Linked DNA regions of Homo sapiens: region 1 is linked to region 2. Evidence: promoter capture Hi-C in 16 types of primary human blood cells and fetal thymus (Javierre and others, 2016). All regions are on one chromosome and are shown on one strand. Each heading gives the region's core, a stretch centred on a gene start or on the middle of the fragment in contact. The rest is flanking DNA. Distances are from core to core; before and after follow the strand shown.

Region 1 (6,588 bases), core at 3,600-6,099, 450 kb after region 2:
AATCAAGGAGTCTAAGGGGACATCTGAGGGGTCAGGGCACAGATTGTAAGGTGTAATGAAAAGAGGTCACACCTTAGCAGTTTTCAAATGAAGCTTCACATTTTTCAAATGAAGCTTCACATTTTGGATCCTCCATTTTCTCTTCTTTGAAATGAGGCAAAAAGAATTAGCCTGCCAGAGTTGTTATAATTCAATGATATAAAAGAGACTCAGTGAGTAATTTCTAAGAAAGAAAAGCAAAATTGAGACAGCAAGAGCTCTCTCCCAAAAGGCAGTGAACCATTCTGCGGACCTGTGGATTTGAATCTCTTTTGTGGAGTTTGCAGTCTTTCTAGCGGGTTATTTGTTAGAATAAGCCAAAGAGGTTCACCTAGAGAATGACTAAGTTGCGAAAGAAAAATCTCCTCTGGTTCAGAAATGAATTATTCCTAGGATGTTGCTTCATGAGTCTTTGTTACAGAAATTGGAGTTTGTGCAAGTAATTGGGGATCAGGAAACAACCACCCTGGGGACAATTGCAGGCAATTCTGCGACCACCTGGCTTAACTTGAATTCTAGGAAGTAGAGCTTCTCTTAGGTTAATCAAAGGTTTCATGGTACACCTTGTGGCTCTTTTCTTTATCCCTGATTTTTCCTCCCAGGCTTATGAATAAGGCTTCAGTTATGTTTCTCCCTCCAAAATTGCCAGCAGCCCCACCTGCTGGGCTTGGAGGCTGGGGCCTGCAGCCTAAGGACAGTGTGGCAGTCTGCTGCCATCTGCTGGCTCACGTGTCACCAGCTCAGGGCTGGCTTTGCAAGGATTCCCCAGGAATAGAAACCACCAGGAGAATAACTGTGGGCCAGAGAACGTTCCTGCTCATATTGAAAAATGAAGAGATGAGAAGATGGCAGACACAAGCTGGTATAAGAAGGCTTTTCTCCTCCTGCGAGTTTGTGTAAAGATGTGACCATCTCAAACAGCTAAGCCAGTGATATTTCTATGCAGATTTGTTTTGCTCAGGGAGAACATAGCAGTGCTTTCTAAAAAATGTATCTTATTTTATTTAGATCACTGTCTCACAAGGCCGAACAAATAAATTAATGACACATCTCTGTAGATTCATTTAAAGGAAACAGCAGAAACACAAGGCAGTGGGGTCTGAGGTGGGTATAGGGAAGCAGAAAGAGGGGAGGGATTGGAGAAACATTTCGCAGTAAGTTATAGTATATTTTAGTTGGTTCTGTCCACATTTTTTGAAGACCTACTGTTTACAAGGCTCTGACCCAGGTGCCTGGGATACAAGAATGAGTAATACTTAGTAATACTGAGTCCCTTCTGGCTTGGAGATAACAATGTATTGGGGAGCAGTAAATAAATAGAGAATTAAAACAGAATTGCAAGTACTGTGATAAAGTACTATGGTAAAGGAATCTAGGAGAGCACAGAGGAGGAGCATGTGTCAAAATCAAACTGGACTGCAGTGTCAGAGAGCGCATACTCTGGGAGATGGCATGAACTGAATTTTGAAGATACTAGCTCAATGGAGACTGTAATGGGAAAGACATTCCAGTTATGGGAAGCACCACTTCTCATACAGCCCATCACCCACCATCACTGCCTGGAAGAGCTGAGAACACTAGATACAATGCAAGAGAAGGCTGTTAAAACATTAGGTCTCAGATGAGCAATTGATTCAGTCCAGGGATATTGGCAGAGGCAGGGAGAAGAAGGCAGATCCAAGTGAGCAGGCAACATAAATAATCTTGAAGATCAGAGAGCAGGGCTTGGCAGGGTCTTTGGACCCAGGGAAAAGGCCACTTTCAATGCCGTGTATATATGGGCAACCCCTTCCAGGCAGGTATAAGTCACAATCAAATATTCAGAAACTTGTGAGTAACTTCCTGTCTTAATCTATCTGAAACTTCTGTGTGACCTCATTTAAATGTTGAAGTAGCTACAAGCTCAAAGTTATCAACTGCAACATTATTCAGAATTGCAAATATGAAGAGTGAAAGTAGAGAAAATGCTTGAGAAAATTGTGATACAGCAACTGAATGAAGCAGCTCATGGAAAATGCTAATTCTGAAAACTGTAGCACATAACAAATACTTGTGAAAAAAATCAAGATCCAAACCTGCAGGAGAAAAAATATTCAGAAGAGAAAAAAATAAACTGCTAGTAATGATGTTGTTCTTTTCTCTATTGTCTACGTTTTATATAATATTCTTATATTTCTTTTATAATGATTTTTTTAAAATATAAAGCAGCCTAAAGGTGAAATATGTGTCCTGATGAAGGCAGAGGCAAAAATTACCCTAAACAAATAATGGCCCTATTTATGTGTTTGTTTCTGCTACTGTAGATTCCATTTTCTTCCTAATTGTATTTCAGTTTGTGTGGTATATTCATTTTGCTTATTAAGCCTGTCCTCAGCCTTCCCTTTGCCCACACCCCTCCTCACTCCCTGGATCTGTGGGACGTATTGTGATGTCTGCCCGCTAATTTTGCTGTGACTGGGGCTGGTGTCTGGTTGGTGATTCATGTTTGTTCCAAAGTTGTACATCTGTGTTGGTTGCTTTGAAGCAGTGCCCCAGGGAATATGAAAGGCCATTTGTCTCCCTAAGACTGCTTCTTTGCATCAGAGACTTCTTCCCTGGCTTCGTTTAAATTCCAGCAAGCTCTCCTGAGTTTAAGTAGGGTAAGAAGGAAAGAAAACAAAAGCAAACAGGGGCATCATGGAGAGATCATTGGAGTCAGGGTCTAACCCCAGTTTACCTGGCATAAGTGAACTTCTTGGATTCTAATACTAGGGACAGAATGCCTATGACACTCATTTTAAGGGTAATGCTTTGTGGACTTACCCTCTGCCCACTAGGAATGCCTTTAGCAAAAAAGAAGGCAGAATGAGCCTTGGTGGAAACCCTGAATGGAAAGAGTTCTAAGAGCTCGGTGGGCATACCCACTTGGCACCTGCTCTAAGATTTTAGCACAGATACACACAGCAGTGGTATTCATAATATTTAATGACTGGCACTGCATGAGCACTGATGAATTAATGGACACAGGCACAGTGCTTCCAGACACCAATCCTTTAGTTACTGGATCACCAAGAAGTCCAGCTGACCCTGGAGGGCCTGGGGCAGTGGATGGATGCTAACAGTTTTAAAAGTATGTTAGTGTTTTAATATCCAGAAAGGTTGCACAGATACATACCAGATGAATAACAACATAAATACATGAAATTTCTAAACTCATGCCCACCATTAAGTTTTGTGTAATCCCCTCTTCACTTTTTAAGAACCTACCTACTTTGCCCTTAAAAATAGTTCAGAGCCCATGACCTACTGTTTCTAGGGGTTTGGGTGGCACACAAAAAAGCCCTTATCCACAGAGGGGCTTTTTATTTTGCTCAACTACGATAGATCTCACCCAAGGGAAGTTTGCAAGTCGCTTTATTATATTTTTGCTTGCTGCAATGTATGTGGCTAACAACGTAGCTCTGCCTCCAGGCAGGCTGGCAAGCAGGCTGCTAGTATGAGTGATTGTCCACCTGCCTGTCTGCCTGCAGTCTTTGAAAGGCAGCCCCATCCCAGACCATTAGCCTACTGAGAAAATTCATCTACAGTACCTTGAAAGACCAAACATATTGGATTGTTATAGCTTTTCTTTGGCCTTTTACCCAGACATTATCATTTTCTGCTTCTTATCAGACACCTGGAGTTTGTGGGTTGTCTAAAAGCAGCTTCTGTGAATGGTCTCTGGGGAAGCCTTATAACCCTGCCTTCTGTCATTTCTTCTCCTCATGTTTCAAGGAAACCTACAGCTTCAGGGTAATTTGCTGCCTCCCCGTTTTCATTCAAGAGAGCAGCCAAGGTTGCTTATAGTCTAACTGGCTCTTTATGTACCAAATTACTTTTGGTTGAATTCAGAGACTAAAGAGGAATTTCACTCAGTTATCTATTGGGCCATTCTGGAGTTCTGTCATTAGGAAAGTCTGAGGTTGTAAAGAAATTAGTTGCAAGACATGAGTCTTCCAATTCTGCTCTGCAAGTTACTAGCCTATGACTCTGAGAAAGGTATTTACATCTTGCTAAGCCTCATTTACCTCAAATGTAGAGTAGGATCATTTTATATACTTCACAGGGTTGTTAGGAGTAAATGGAATAATGTATTGGGAAGCACTTTGTAAAGTGAAGAAATATAAGCAAAATCCACCCAAAGTGAGCTGGTTGTAAGAACTAGTGAAAGGAAAGAACCAAGAATGTAGACATAAATCATGGCCGCTGAATTGGTATACAGGAAATTCACTGTTGTGGTCTAATTTGAAAAAAGGAGCATCCTCAGCCCCATATCTTTTGTTCACCATCTCTCTGCAAAGCTTTAGCTGGGGAGCAGTGAGAGTTCTGGAGAAATACTAGGGAAGAGGATTACTGTCAATTTGAGGCTAAGAGAGATTGTGTGTGCAGGAAAAAATGCATATGTAATGATAAAGGAGAATGTGAAAAGGGCACAGTGCCCAGGGAAATACCAGGAGCGTGGATACAGAAAACAAGAGACAAAATCTCTACTGCTCCCGTCTGTGTGTTCATTGATCAGAGCATGTTCAAATAATTCTGGGCTTGAGGGCACCTTTCTAGAGTGACGAAGACCGATAGGAAACCTCATGACACTCCTCTGTGGGAGCCAGTGAATGCATCCTCCCCCAGAGACAAAGCTCTGCAGCCTTGGAGAGTAATTTGGTGTTAGCAGATTAATTAAGTCATTTTCTGTGGTTAAATTTGCAGATGAATATTAAATCTCAGGCTGGGCCTCCCATCTAATAACCCAGTGGAGGTTGTCAGGATAACACTTTGTTCCTGAAACATTTAGAAATACGTGTATTGTATATTTAATGAGACTGTGATATTTATTCATGACAGGAAGAAGTCTTCCAGACAGGAAGACTTTACTCATGTGATAGTTCAGGGTCTGACACCTAGAGCTGTGCTGAATGCCCCCTCTAAAGTTGCTTATTATCACCAAGTTGTTGTATGCCTGGCACCAACGCCGAATTTGTCCAAGTTACTCATGTCACTGAAAGGCCATGGAGTTTGCTCCTGGGTTCAAATTCTGGCTCCATTATTTGCTAATGGTGGGCATGGGTAAATAACTGAACTTCAGTGCGACTCAGTTTCCTATACATAACATGAAAATAATAATGACTGCAACTCTAAGCTGTGTTGAGGATGAAAACTTTCCATAGTACATACAGTTTTATGTAAAATGCTTAGTGTATAGTACCTGCCACACGTTGGTTCTCAGTGTATACTATGTGTCCTCCTCCATGGTTATCATGTGACCAGAGTTTCCCACTTTCTCTTTAAGCTTTGATGTGGAAAATGGCCCTTCCCCAGGTCGGAGTCCACTGGATCCCCAGGCCAGCTCTTCCGCTGGGCTGGTACTTCACGCCACCTTTCCTGGGCACAGCCAGCGCAGAGAGTCATTTCTCTACAGATCAGACAGCGACTATGACTTGTCACCAAAGGCGATGTCGAGAAACTCTTCTCTTCCAAGCGAGCAGTAAGTACAAGCTCTGTCTGGCTTCCAGTTTCACATTTACCTCATCTCTACCCAGGTCACAGTGGCAGCAACAACAATTCCCCATTAATCTATGGTAAGGATGAAGGAAGAAAATGAATATGAGCAGGGGTGACGTGATGACCATTTTAAGGACATTAATGCTCTATAGCATGCGGAATATGTAGCTGGGGTCTCCAAGGGTTTTGGAAAACCTAGACACAGTGTTTACTTTACATCTTTTACTGATACCTTAAAAAAATTATTTTGCTTCATTTCCTGAACTGTTGAGTCATTTATGGCATGAGAACCTTAACACTTTTTATACATCACACTTGAAATTTCAGCTGTGTGTGCAGTTTTCATGAGGCTCCAGCAAAGAGGAAAAATGGTGATTGGTTATATGCATGCTGTCTCAGTAGCCTTTGCTTGGTGACTTTAATAAGATGTCATTCAGACACATGCCTGTGTCCCTTCTCTGAAACTTTAACACAATGCCCACTTGTTGCCTGGCTCCTTGGTGAGACACAACACACTCCACCGCCCTGTAAAGCACTGCTGATATTTTTGTTTTGCCGCTATTAATTGTAAATCTCTAAATTTTATTTAAAGAACAAGATCTAGGTTGTGTCACCCATTTATTAAATTTCCAAAACCAAATAAAATTGGATTCTGGAATTCATGCCTTAAAAGGTTTCTGGGCACAGATACAATTGTTTTTATATTATATGTCATAAAAGTATCAGTAGCTCCCTAAGGTCTCCAGTTTGGAAAATTCCACTCTGTTCTCTTCTGCTATTGGAAGGGAAGTCAAAAATTTCACCCTCTGGTGAAAGGGGGAATTTTGAAGCTACCAGCAAAAAAATATTCCTTGAGGCATTTCTGCCAGCACATTTTAATAGACGCACCCCTGCCCTAAAATATCTCAATCATTGTGTGGGCCCAAATTCATTTTTCAGTCATTTGGCAAAATTTACTGATTCTCTCCTTTGTGCCACACATTGTGTCAATCTCTGGTGATAAAAGACAAACAAAACAGTGTAAAAATCACA
Region 2 (6,097 bases), core at 3,421-5,920:
AACATTCAAACATTTTTTGTAGTATTAGTTTTACAGTAAAAATATATTTGGTGTTCACCACCAGTCATTTTGAGAAAGTTTTCCCTTTTTTATTCTAGTATATCCCCTTATGGGAGGAATATTCTTTGAGTTTTAATGTTTAAAAATATGACATTTATATATGATGAATAACTAGCCAGATATAAAATCCTTAGATCATTATTTTTTTTCATGAGAATATAATAAGTTTTGTTTCCATTCTCATTGGAACAAAAGCCCATTGTCATTAGGCTTTGAATGTTGCTTTCAAGAAGACTGAGGGTAGGTTGATTTCTTTTTCTTTCTACAAGAATTGATTTTTTTTTCTTTTCTGCTTCAAAGGTTCCTTACATATATATAAAACTCAATAATTTGTTAGTATATTTCTTTGTTCAACCATCATGAATCATTTTTTTCTACTACATGGTATTTATTTTGAACATGTAGATTGAAGTCTTTTTTTTATCAGTTTCAAGAAAGTTTTTTAAAAATTTTGCTTAAACATTTGCTCTGTTCCACTGATAAGGTTTTCTTCTTTTTTTTTCTGGGTGATTTTTTTTTTGTTTTAAAATTATTATTATACTTTAAGTTTTAGGGTACATGTGCAACATGTGCAGGTTAGTTACATATGTATACATGTGCCATGCTGGTGTGCTGCACCCATTCTTCTTTAGAGACTCCAATTATATGTGTGTTGTATTTCATCTATCATTATCAGTTTCACACAAATACTTTTATTTGCTATGTCTTACTTATCTGCAATACTTAGTCCTTTTTTGTATTTCTTCCAATATTGTCTTCATTTCTGTCATGGTTTGCTTTTCTTCTTCTTTCTGCTAAAAAAATCAACTAATTTCATCCTCCTCATCTCTCTCTTGAGTTTCTTCATTTGTGCCTTTTGGTTTTCCTTAATAGATGATGTTTATTTCTTAACATATCAACAAATATGCTTAATTTAGAGAAACTATGCTGCTTATGAATAAGAGCAAAGACTCTAGAACAAGATTAACTGTGTTTAAATACGGGGTCTTCCTCTAACTGTGTGATCTTGAGTGTTACTTAACTTGTCCCTTAGGTCTTTAAATCTATATAATGGTAATAATAATAACAATATCTAATTTACAGAGTTGTGTTGAGAATCAGTTGAGTTCATATCTCTACAAAGTGGTAAGAATATTGCCTGGCAACAGTAAATACTATGCTAAAGTATTATTAGTTTTTTTCTTGCATTTCGAAATTTATAGTCACAATTTTAATTGTCTCTGTGACAACACTTTTTCCTCTCATCTATTAAAAAGTTTTGATGCTAATTTTCTGAATTTTAAAAATAGTATGTCTGTATCTGTGTTATGCCAGTTTCTTCTTTATCACTGCTCACTATTGAATGAATTATTTTTCTGGTCAAATTCCTTAGAGAAAGTTCCTGAAGTGGAGGTTGCAAAGTGGCTTTCCTGTTCTCAAAACAAATAGCTCCCACTTAATGATCCCCAATAATTGACACCTCCCTCTACCCATGCCCATAAAATACTCCCACATTGACTCTGGACTTAGCTACATGACTTGCTTTAGCCAACGGGACATTAACAAACACAACACATACAGAAGCTTGAAACTTGAAAGTGTGTGAACACTACAGCATGAACACTAGGCTGCCATTTCTCTTGCTACTGGGAACATGTCTACCTCCATGTGAAAAAGCCTGACTAGCTTCCTGGGAAAAGGCCCTAGGTGTCCAAGCCATCCCTTCCAGAGGCCCAGATTTGTGAGTAAGACCTGCTGATACCGCATGGGGCAGAGATTAGCCATTGAGCCCACACAGCTGAGCCCATCCCAATTTTCCATCTCACTAAATTGTAGGCAAATCACTGGTAGCTTTTTAAACCATTGTTTCGGGTGGCTTGTTATGCAGCAATAGATTATGGATTCACTTTTACTGTTGCCTCACAAACAGACTGCTTTTAGTAGTTATGGCATCTTTGTATACTCACTTCCTCTGAGACTCTGAAGGGAATTATGTCCAGAAGATCCTTTTCCAGTAGTTCTCTGCTCCCCAGTTCTTAAAAAGAAGGAACAGGACTTTTACATTTCATAGTGATTTGACCATCTTCAAGCACTAAAGTTTTGCTGACCCTGAGATCTGCTCCTACCATGTTTCTGGGAACTCCCTGTTCTCCTTTTGTCATCTGTATGTATGTATCTCTTTTGCCTTCTTCCTTCTGCTTCTGCTCCAGTTTTTGAGAGACAGCTTTGCATTTTACGACACACCTCTCATTTCCCAGAAAACATACTTTTGCTGGCACTTTCTGATACTTCTAGTGCTGGTTCCCATTGCCTCTCCCTGGGCCTTTTCCATATGACTTCTGCCCAAACTCAGCTGCTTTTGGTAACCTTTAGAAGCGCTTTGGGGTTTGTAGGTAAAATCTATATAAATTTGTTGAAAATGGTGTTTGACAGTTTTTTTCCATTCTCTTTGTTAGTTTATGTAATTTTTAGAAAGAGATGAGAAAGATGCTTAAAAAGCTGACATCATTTTCTACTGGAATCCGTATATAATTCTTTTTGCAGTAAGAACTCTTTGGACACATTTTTCTGAAGATGATGTAATAACCTTGGGAGGCTTAGTAATTATTAATACCTTTCAAATTTCTCATATTCAAAAAGGGGCAGCATGATGCTCAAATTGGTTCTTTTTTTCCCCTAGATTGAACTACAATTTAGATTCCTTACACTCTCTTTAGGCAATGGTTGCCTTATATTTAATACATCTAACTAATCCTAACTGTAGTTCAGAAAAAGAGATTCCATTATCATCATTTTACAGATGAAAACTGTGAGAACAATGACTACATTGCGGATTTTGTTGGCTTCCTTTCAGGTGCTTATTGCCTCACTATTATTAATTTTGGCTTTGGGCTCAATTTCAAGGTTATGGATGAGGTAGATGGTATAGTGTAAGCAACAGGTCCAAAAAGGCAGAATAACCAGCGAACACTTGGTAGCATCTCAGATGTGGGGAAATAGGTGTTTTATACTCCAAACGCTAGTGTTTGAATATGTTTCCTCCAAAACCATGAAGGGGAAAGTTCATTAAGTTCCTACACTGATAAGCTCTTAGACATGCCTTTCAATGTACAGGCATGTAAAGCTATTTTGGGTGAATGGGTGAATAGTAGGTTATTAGGTTATTGCCCTTCTTTGGGAGGTCCCTATTTGTCCTTTAATACACAGTTCAGATGGGATTTAAATTCCCTGACCTGTTCCTTCTCTTACATAGAAAAAATTGCTTCCACTTATGCAATTGGCATGTGCTTCTGTTGTGAAATACTTGTGTTGTTTGTCTCGGGCTTTCATAGTTGGTTCTCCTATTAGGCAGTGAGCTCCTTGGGTGCAGAGACTATGTCCTAATCGACTCTGCATCCTTAGCTTCTGCAAAGTGCTCAGTGCACAGTAGGTGTGCATGATGTTTATTGGAATAAATCGAGAAACAGGCGAATGTTGTCTATTAAAGTCATTTTGGTCTCTAGCTACTGTAGTAGTTGGATAGGCAAAGTTACTTCATGCCTATCTTCCTCCTCTTTTCCTTGCCAGCTTCCTTCTTTTTTTCTCTGACTGAAAGGGCTGGACAACCGGGGAAAAGGAAACTTGTGCTTTCCAGCATACCTCTCCCACTCTACACACACACACACACACACTCTCTCTCTCTCTCTCTCTCTCTCTCTCTCGCTCTCGCTCTCGCTCTCTCTCCATCCTGTTGCATTTTTAAAGCAGGCTCAGTCAGGTTACTGAGTGCCTGTTGCTCCATCACACGAATTCCCAAGTTGTGGGACTCACCTTCAGGGGTGTCTTGGTGGAGCACCTCTTGGGAGGTGATCTGACCTGTTGGTTCAGGAGCACTGCGCGTATTCACTCTGGCGCTCCTTTGTGCAACAGGAGACCAGAGGACTCCCACGGTCCCACTGGCTCCTTCCACGTAATGTGCCCCGCTGGCTCTCTCGCCTCCCCCAACCCGGGGGTCTGCGTCCCCTGCGCCCCAGTCCCTCTTTGTGCAGCCAGTAGCTGCAGAGCTCTTCGTCTTGTATTCATGGCAGATGCACAGCGAGTGACTGACACGTTCCAGGGACGGCGAATGGGAAAGAGCGCGGGCGGCCGGGGGAGGGTGTGTAGTGGCAGACGGCCGCTGGGATTATGAATGGGGGCTGGGGGGCCGGCGAGTGTGGGGTTCAAACCAGGATTTTCGGTCTCTGGCTTTGGATAGGCACGCAGGGCTGTGCGTAATCCTTCAGCTCTGGTGGTAAGGGAGATGCAGTGAGCTCCCGGCTGGGAGAGAGGGTTATTTTGCAAAACTCCCCTGGTACCGTGCCCGCGGAATATTGCAGGAGGTCTGTGAGGTAGGTGGGGGAAAAAATAACCTGGGAGGGCAATCAGGGAGAGGCCAGACGACTGGGGACGGCGTGCTTTGCACCCTAGAATTGACAGGTGGTGGCCTCAGCAGTTACAACCTACTACACAGCATCTCGTCCGTGCGATACGGTCACATTGTTATTCCCCGCACCCGGCTGAGGAGCGCAGCGCGGCAGACCAAGTGGCACCGGCGAGCTGTCTCTCTTCCGGGGGGCGGGGGTGGACAGTAGGGAGAGGGGGTTTAAAGGGCCAGAGGACGAGAGAAGAGCTGAGGGGCGCGTCGCCAGCGCCTGTGTCTCCCTGGCGCGGGTTCCCCAGGCTAGCCCGCTGGCCCGTCCGCGCGCGCGCCCCCGGCCCGCGCGCCCCTTCCCGGGGCTCCTGGCCTCGCCTCAGCGGCTGCAGGCTCTTCGTCGCGGGCCGGGCTGCACGCGAGCGCCCTCCGGGCAGACTTTCGTCCCCCACCCCCGGGAGCGCGGAAGGCTCACTCGCAGCGCATGGTCTACCCGCGCCGGGCGGAGCCCCGGCGTCCAGAGCGCTGCGGCCGCGGCGGTGCAGCAGAGGCGCCTCGGGCAGGAGGAGGGCGGCTTCTGCGAGGGCAGCCTGAGGTAAGGGCTGCCTAGGAGGCTGCGGGTTTATTTTTCCTCATTCTCTTACTTCATCACACACTGAAGCCTCAATGGAGAGTGTAGGGTGCTGTGGGGCTGATGTGGGGCAAAGAGGGAATGGGGCCGCCGGGCCTGGATGGTCGTCTTGACGGCGTCATTGTCGCCCCTTGTAGGAAATCCGCCAACCGGCCCCTAGCCTTTCGCCCTCATCTTCTCTGCTTCGGCTTCCGCCCTTGGACCTCTTGACAAGTCACTGGGGAGGAGAGGATGGAGAGAGGCTAAGGGAGAATGGAGAGAGGCAGAAGGATTCAGGGCTTGGAAGCCCTGGAGTAGGTGACGGATGGGCGCGCGGTGCCCAGTGATTGACTGCAGGCAGCGGGCGCGGAAGGGAACCTGAACTACCCAAGAGTTTGCTGGGCTGAGGCTCCAGGATGCTCCTGCGTGCCCTGGTGGCTGGGGCACCAAGGAGGGGCGCACTCAAGCCTCGGCATCACCAAGGCTCTGCCAGGAACTTTTGGGAAGATTTGTCTGGTGTTTGGTGAGGGGGCTTGGACCTTTCTAGCTACAAGAGTGTGTTGGGGAAGGAAGAGGCTCTCCTCCTTTCTCCTGTCACTTTCCTTCATGCCTACTCTCTTCTTCCATCTTCCTGTTTTGCCTCCTTCCTTCCCGTTTTTCACAGGCCACCTTCCTTGTGCGGTACTTCAAACACAAATCGGAACCCACTATGGCCAACAGCTTTAAAGCGTGTATAAGGAGGAGCGCACAGAAGAATCGCTCTTAATTACAGTAGTTATATATGTGTGTGTGTGTGTCTGTGTGTGTCACACACGTGCCTGGGATAATTTTTAGCAAGACTTTGAGACGGTCACCTAAAATTACATTGTACTTACATTAGGTTTACATCATAATTATATGATGCCACTGAACAGAAATGGTAACTCTATGCATTCTGCATCTTAGATCTGAGATATAACTGTTCTTTGAATCACATGCATCGTTTAATTTCAAAGATTTCCAGCTGCTGGAAAACTCTTGGCTAAGTTATAAGAATGAAAGGCACATTAAGCATAAAA

Evidence for each region. The method cuts DNA at HindIII sites, captures the fragments that hold promoters and counts their contacts. A CHiCAGO score of 5 or more calls a contact.
Region 1: a contact is called between a fragment that was not itself captured here and the fragment with the promoter of PDE4B in region 2, in 1 of 17 cell types (M1 macrophages). The highest score is 5.7, in M1 macrophages.

The regions. Positions count from the first base shown.
Region 1 is chr1:66,242,116-66,248,703 of GRCh38, forward strand. It overlaps PDE4B (phosphodiesterase 4B), which reads left to right. Exons shown (of 17, transcript NM_002600.4): 4 at 5,345-5,539. Among named protein-coding and RNA genes, the nearest start is that of PDE4B-AS1, 190 kb to the left of the region's middle. The HindIII fragment of the contact is 986 bases long and covers 4,357-5,342 here.
Region 2 is chr1:65,788,225-65,794,321 of GRCh38, forward strand. PDE4B (phosphodiesterase 4B) reads left to right here and starts at 4,671. Exons shown (of 17, transcript NM_002600.4): 1 at 4,671-5,024. The HindIII fragment of the contact is 11,219 bases long and covers 1,622-6,097 here.